Regions from separate parts of the Homo sapiens genome. Here region 1 is linked to region 2. The links are contacts of gene promoters, found by promoter capture Hi-C in blood cells and fetal thymus (Javierre and others, 2016). All regions are on one chromosome and are shown on one strand. The core of a region is centred on a gene start or on the middle of the fragment in contact, and the rest is flanking DNA. Distances in the headings are between cores, read along the strand shown. Region 1 overlaps COPS8-DT (COPS8 divergent transcript). Region 2 holds the start of NDUFA10 (NADH:ubiquinone oxidoreductase subunit A10).

Region 1 (3,262 bases), core at 682-3,181, 2.9 Mb before region 2:
TTGTTGAGTAGTTTTCAGAGTTTAAGTTTTACACTTCTTTTATTATATTTATTTCTAAGTATTTTATTCTTTTTCATACTATTACAGGTGATATGGTTTGGCTGTGTTCCCCACCCAAATCTCATCTTCAGTTGTAGTTCCCATTATCCCCATGTGTCATGGGAGGGACCTGGGGGGAGGTAACTGAATCATGGGGGCAGTTACCTCCATGCTGTTCTTGTGATAGTGAGTGAGTTCTCAAGGTATCTGATGGTTTTTCTTTTGCTGTTGTTTTATTTGTTTGTTTTTTGAGGAGTCTCACTCTGTTGCCCAGGCTGGAGTGCACTGCAACCTCTGCCTCGCGGGTTCAAGTGATTCTGGTGCCTCAGCCTCCCGAGTAGCTGGGAATACGGGCGTGTGCCACCACGCCCAGCTAATTTTTTTTGTATTTTTAGTAGAGACAGGGGTTTCGCCATGTTGGCCAGGATTTTCTCGAACTCCTGACCTCAGGTGATCTGCCGGCCTCAGCCTCCCAAAGTGCTGGGATTACAGGTGTGAGCCACTGTGCCCAGCCATCTGATGGTTTTAGAGGCAGTTTTCCCTGCTCTTGCTCTTGCTGTCTCTTTCCCGCTGCCGTGTGAAGGTCTGCGCTTCCTTTTCACCTTCCACCATGATTGTAAGTTTCCTGAGGTCTCCCAGGTGTGCAGAACTAAGTCATTTAAACCTCTTTATAAATTACCCAGTTTTGGGTAGTTCTTTATATTAATAGTAGTGTGAGAATGGACTAATATAACAGGTGAAATTGTTTTCTTAATTTCATATTTGGCTTATTCATTGCTAATATACAGAAATAAAATTGATATTTGCATGTTGATTTTGTATCCTGCAACCTCGCTGGACCCAATACTATGTCAATCAAGGAAAATGACCAAAGCAAGTCTCAATCATTTTAAGGAGGTGTATTTGCCAAAGTTAAGGGTGTGCCTGGGAGACATGTCTATGCCTTTTTCGAGAGATGATTTTGAGAGCTTCAATGTTTAAAGGGGAAAGTGTGGGATATTGAGAAATGCACAATTTTCATGTTGCGGGGGAGGAAAAGAGTCATTCGTGTCTTTGGCTCTGTGAATATGCATTTTTACTTAAGATAACACAGAGGATAGGGGAGAGGAAAAAATCAGATATGCATTTGTTTCAGGTGGGCAGAGGGATCGCTTTGAGTTATGCCCTATGTCCCCGCACCTGTGAAGATAAGCTATTAATTTACATTGCCATGGTGAACTTTAACATAAATGCTTTAGGGTAAAGATCTTGGGGCCCACAGGGGAGGTGTGTAGCTTTTCACGTGTGTAGCCATCTTATTTAGGAACCAAAATGGGAGGCAGGCTTGCATGACCCACTTCCCAGCCTGACTTTTCCCTTTGGCTTAGTAAGTTTAGGATACCAAGATTTATTTTCCTTTCACAATTAGTTCTACCTGTTTTTTTTTCTTTTTTGATGAATTTCTTATATACAAGATCATGTCATCTTTAATAGATATAGCTTTACTACTTCCTTTCCAATTTGGATGCTTTCCATTTATTTTTCTTCCCTAATTGCACTGGATAGAACCTGTAGTACACTGTTAAATAAAAATGGCAAAAGCTGACATTCTTGTCTTCCTCCTGATCATAGAGAAAAGCCATCAGTCATTGACCATTAAATGTAATGTTAACTGCAGGTTTTATATAGGTGTCTTTTGTCAGTTTGAAGACGTTCCCTTCTCTCCCTAGTTCAGTAAGTGTTTTTATTATAAAAGGAGGTTGGATTTTGTTTTATATATGTATTCTGCATCTATTGAGATGAACGTGTGTTTTGATCCATTATTCTGTTGATATGGCTTATTACACTGATTGGTTTTTGGATGCCAGAGCCATTACTCTGGCACATGGCAGGAATGGTAGCCTCTGATCTTCTCAGCTTTTCTACTGGACACAGAATATATGTTTACCCCAGAAAGCAAGCTGGAGTGAGGGCAATTAGGACCCCTGTATTCCAGACCTGTTATGCCTAGTGTATAGTCTCCATCCATGAGTGGGAGCTTGGTGGAGGAAGGGAGCCTCCTGCCTCTTGGCCACAGTTAGCTAGAATTTAGCGTTAAACTTGGAGTTGGAGTGGATGAGAAATGCTTGCAACCTTCGCCTTCTTGTGAGACACCTTATCCCTTGTTTGATAGAGGAAGGGAGAGTGAGCCCCATCTTCTTGACCACATCCACCCACAGTGGAGCTTCTATGAAGCTGAGCTAGGTGCGGGGCTGGAAAGAGCAGATTATGGCTCAAATGCCACACACTCTCTCTGTTCTTACCAAGTTGTGATAGATTTTATTGAATAAATTTTTTTTTCATTTTTTATATACCTTTAAGATAATTTCCAGAAACTTTTAAGTTTTCTTAGAAATTTTCTCCAGCTATGGTTGTTTCAGTGGGAAGTGTCTCCACAGAAGTGGAACTCCCCTTCGTGCACTTTTTAAACTCTAGGGGTGGTAATGATGTCAACTATTGTGAGCCCTGGGGTACTATCCTTTGTAGTTTTCCAGTATCTTGCCAATACCTTTGTAAATAGCCATTTTATTAAATTTTCCTCAAATTGCCCAATCTGAGATATGGTTTGGCTCTGTGTCCCCACCCAAATCTCATCTCGAATTGTAATCCCCATGTGTCAAGGGAGGGAGGTGATTGGATCACGGGGGCAGTTCCTCCCATGCTGTTCTCATGATAGTGAGTTCTTATGAGATCTGACGGTTTCGGGGTTTTTCTGTGTGTGTGTGTGTTTGTTTTTGAGATGGAGTCTCACTCTGTTGCCCAGGCTGGAGTGCAGTGGTGCGATCTTGGCTCACTGCAACCTCCACCTCCCAGGTTCCAGGGATTCTCCTGCCTCAGCCTCCTGAGTAGCTGGGACTACAGGTGTGTGCCACCACACCCAGCCAATTTTGTATTTTTTTGGATTTCATCATGTTAGCCAGGATGGTCTCGATCTCCTGACCTCATGATCCGCCCACCTTGGCCTCCCAAAGTGCTGGGATTACAGGCGTGAGCCACCGCGCCCGGCCGAGATCTGACGGTTTTATAAGTGTTTGAGAATTCCTCCTTTGCTCTTCTCTCACCTGCCTCCATGTAAGATGTACCTGATTCCCCTTCTGCCATGATTGTAAGTTTCCTGAGGCCTCCTCAGCCATGTTGAACTGTGAGTCAATCAAACGTCTTTCCTTTATAAATTACCCAGTCTTGGGTATTTCTTTACAGCAGT
Region 2 (3,408 bases), core at 886-3,385:
CAGATATGATGGGGTAATAACCTTACTATATACAGAAATTGTACAGAACAATAAGAAAACAAAGAATAAAAACACACAGCTTATTTTAAAATTATAAAATATAGCCAAAAACCACATGAAAAAGTGGTCAACCTTGCTACAAAAAAACAAAAGACTATTAACAAGGAAACATTAGTTTTTCATGTGTCAAAATGAGAAATAATTTAAAAAATGATTACAGAGTTAGGACAAGACAATGAGTACCATCCTAAACTGCTAATGGTAATGAAACCTAGAGGACGCTGGGTCTACAGCATTAGGAATCCATTCAAAGAGTATATACATAAGATTGACCTATAAGGATGCTCAATGAAGTATGATGTAACACCAAAAATGCAAATAGAAACCCTTAAATGTCCAACAACGGAGGAATAGTTAAACAAAATTAAGGCATATCCATATTATGGAATACTAAGTACTCAGAAAAACACAAAAATATTAAAATACTTTATAGTGAAATTTAAATAAAACAGGAGAATATGAAATATCAAGATATTTTTCGATCTTGATTTGATAACTGAAGAGTAAGGAAGAAACAAGTTACAAAACAAGGCAAAGCAGACAACCCAATTTAAAAATGGGCAAAAGATGTAAACACCTCTCGCAAATGAAATTAACGCAGATAGCAAATAAGTATATGAAAAGATGAACACTGTATATCATGAGATATTCCAAAGTTGAAACAAGATACCACTACGCAGCTATCAGAATGGATAGCAATCCAAAGTAACCGACAGCCCCGCATGCTGGCGAGCACGCAGAGCAACAAGGAGAGCCTTCACTTCTGGTGGGAGTCAAATGGCACAGTCACTCTGGAAGATGGCTTGGCAGCTTCTTAGAAAACTAGTCTTACTACATGAGTAATCGCTCTTCCAGGTATTACCCAAATGATATAAAAATGTATTTCCAAAAAGAAATCTGCATGTACACGATTACAGCAGCTTTATTCATAATTGCCAAAAACTTGAAGCAACCAAGATGCCCTTCAATTGCTGAATGAATTGAAGTACATCCATGCAATGAGATATTACTCAGTGATTAAAAAGAAATGAGTTACCAAGCCACGAAGACATAAGTGAATCTTACATAGATATTTCCAAGTATTCAAGGCGTCTGAAAAGGCAATATATTGTATGATTCTAATTATATGACATTCCAGAAAAGGCAACTATGGAAATGTTAATGAGATCTGTGGTTGTCAGGGGTTGGAGAAAAAGAAGGGTTTAATAGGTAAAGCAGAGGGGAATTTTTTAAGGCAGTGAAGCTACTCTGTACGAACCTATAATGGTGGAGACATGCTATTACACACGTGTCAAAACCTATAGAACCTTATAGCACAAAGAAAAAATCCATAGAACCTTATAGCACAAAGAATGCGCTCAATGTATGCACATTTTAAAAAACGCATTAGGTAGAAGGATCCCAAGATGTAAGGCAGAATGTGACAAAGCAATCCAACTGTGTTACAAATGTATGAAACGATTTCACTGAAGAAGGTGGGGGCAAAATGCTAAGAAATGAGAGTAGTCAGTCAGAGTAAAGGCAAAAGGAAGCGGACACAAGCACTGAACTCCGTGTCTGCTCAACATGGCATCACCCAAGCACCCAGCAGGGCCCGACCTTTAAACGGCTCTTGACAGGGCTGCTACGTGAATTATCTAATGACAAGCGCGTGTGCCCCCGGCCTGCCACCTGCACACGGGCCTCCCGCATCAGGGCAGCCTCGGGGCCCTGATCACCTCCGCGCTCCAGCGTTTTGCTTAAAGCTGAGATAAAATGGCCTGGAGAAGCTCGTGGCCCCCTGAGGTCTGTCCACGACCAAAGACCAAACAATTCCGGAGGCAGGAGGGGTCCCCCAAACCCACCCGGAGAGCGACCTGGGAGCCGCCGCCAGAGGCCGGGGGAGATGTGGAACTGCTCCCCACCCCGCCACCCCGCCACCCTGCCACCCCGCCACCCTGCCACCCCGCCGCCCGCTCACCACGCGCTGGGCGCCCGCCGCCACGACCCGGGCGGACGCGGACGTCGCTGCCAGCTTCAGGAGCCGCAAGGCCATGGCTACCCGGTCAGCTCAGGATCAAGGACCCAAGGGGACGCGGTCGCGACGGGGCCCTCTCTCGCGGCCGGCGCGCTGCCGTGACGTCACGGCCGGGGTGCCCGCGGCGCCTGTCGGGAACCTTCCAGGGGGCGGGGCCGCGCCGAGGCCCTCGGGGGCTTCCGCGGAGACAGCCAGTGCGCTGCCAGGGTCCTGCGGGTTGGGGCGAGGGCCGAGAGGTGGGAGTTGGAGGTGAACGTGGGGGCAGCATGCTGGCTGCCCGGCCCCTGCCTGGGTTCTGAGTTGCTGCGGTGTCGCGGGAGCTGAGGCCGCCCAGGGCGTGGAGCGACTTCTGCGTCTCGTCCCAGGGTCCTGTGCTCCCCGCAGAATCCCCCAGGCGCGGTGTGGACGTCAAAGCGACCTCCTAGAGAACATTCCTAGCTCTCAGAACGTTCTCGCTGGGGAGGGAAAGTGGAAAAAGAGGGGGCGAGGAGCGGAGGGACGGGGTGGGACCCCTGTCGCGGGGCGCCTGTCAGGGAGAGGGACCTGGCAAGGCCGGCCTGGGTCGCCTCCGGAGCTGAAGGCTAAGTGGTCTCATCCAGGGGACCTGCTGTGAACACATTGAATAGCATAGAAAACAAAAGCACACGCTCCAAGTCCATCTCTTTTTTTTTTTTTTTTTTTTTTTTTTTTTTTTTTTTTTTTTGAGGCAGAGTCCCGCTCTGTCGCCCAGGCTGGAGTGCGGTGGCGCCATCGCGCTCACTGCAAGCTCCGCCTCCCTGGTTCACGCCATTCTCCTGCCTCAGCCTCCCGAGTAGCTGGGACTACAGGCGCCCGCCGCCACACCCGGCTAATTTTTTGTATTTTTAGTAGAGACGGGGTTTCACCATGTTAGCCAGGATGGTCTCGATCTCCTGACCTCGTGATCCACCCGCCTCGGCCTCCCAAAGTGCTAGGATTACAGGCGTGAGCCACCGCGCCGGCAAGTCCATCTCTTAAAATGTGCTCCCGTCAGGACCTGGGCTCTGGGCTCCACGAAGGAGCCTTGCATGTGAGGTTTCCTTCCAAGTATGCCTGCTGTTGGGAAGGGTTTTTATAATCTTTTGTGTTCCCCAGGCTTTTTGTTCTTAACCCCTTAAATATTCTTTAACTTTGTTTTCAACTTTTCAGAAATGATCATGCGATTGTAAAACAGTGGGAATGCAGCTGTGTAAACTACGGCCGGTTCTATGGATGTTTCTATAATTGAAGAATTGCTTTTTGTCAAAAATACGGATTCCCGGTCCCCAACGCAGGAGGGTCTGGTTTTTAGATCCTGGAGGGCACCTGAAATC

What was found. Contacts are between HindIII fragments. The CHiCAGO score rates a contact against its expected background, and 5 or more counts as called.
Region 1: a fragment that was not itself captured here is called in contact with the fragment with the promoter of NDUFA10 in region 2 in 1 of 17 cell types (total B cells); the score reaches 5.2 in total B cells.

What each region holds. Positions count from the first base shown.
Region 1 is chr2:237,078,391-237,081,652 of GRCh38, forward strand. The region is part of intron 1 of COPS8-DT (COPS8 divergent transcript); the gene reads right to left. Among named protein-coding and RNA genes, the nearest start is that of COPS8-DT, 5.8 kb to the right of the region's middle. The HindIII fragment of the contact is 6,185 bases long and covers 1-3,262 here.
Region 2 is chr2:240,023,207-240,026,614 of GRCh38, forward strand. NDUFA10 (NADH:ubiquinone oxidoreductase subunit A10) reads right to left here and starts at 2,136. Exons shown (of 10, transcript NM_004544.4): 1 at 2,021-2,136. The coding sequence starts at 2,095. RefSeq lists a silencer at 2,063-2,322 and an enhancer at 2,131-2,960. The HindIII fragment of the contact is 3,872 bases long and covers 1-3,408 here.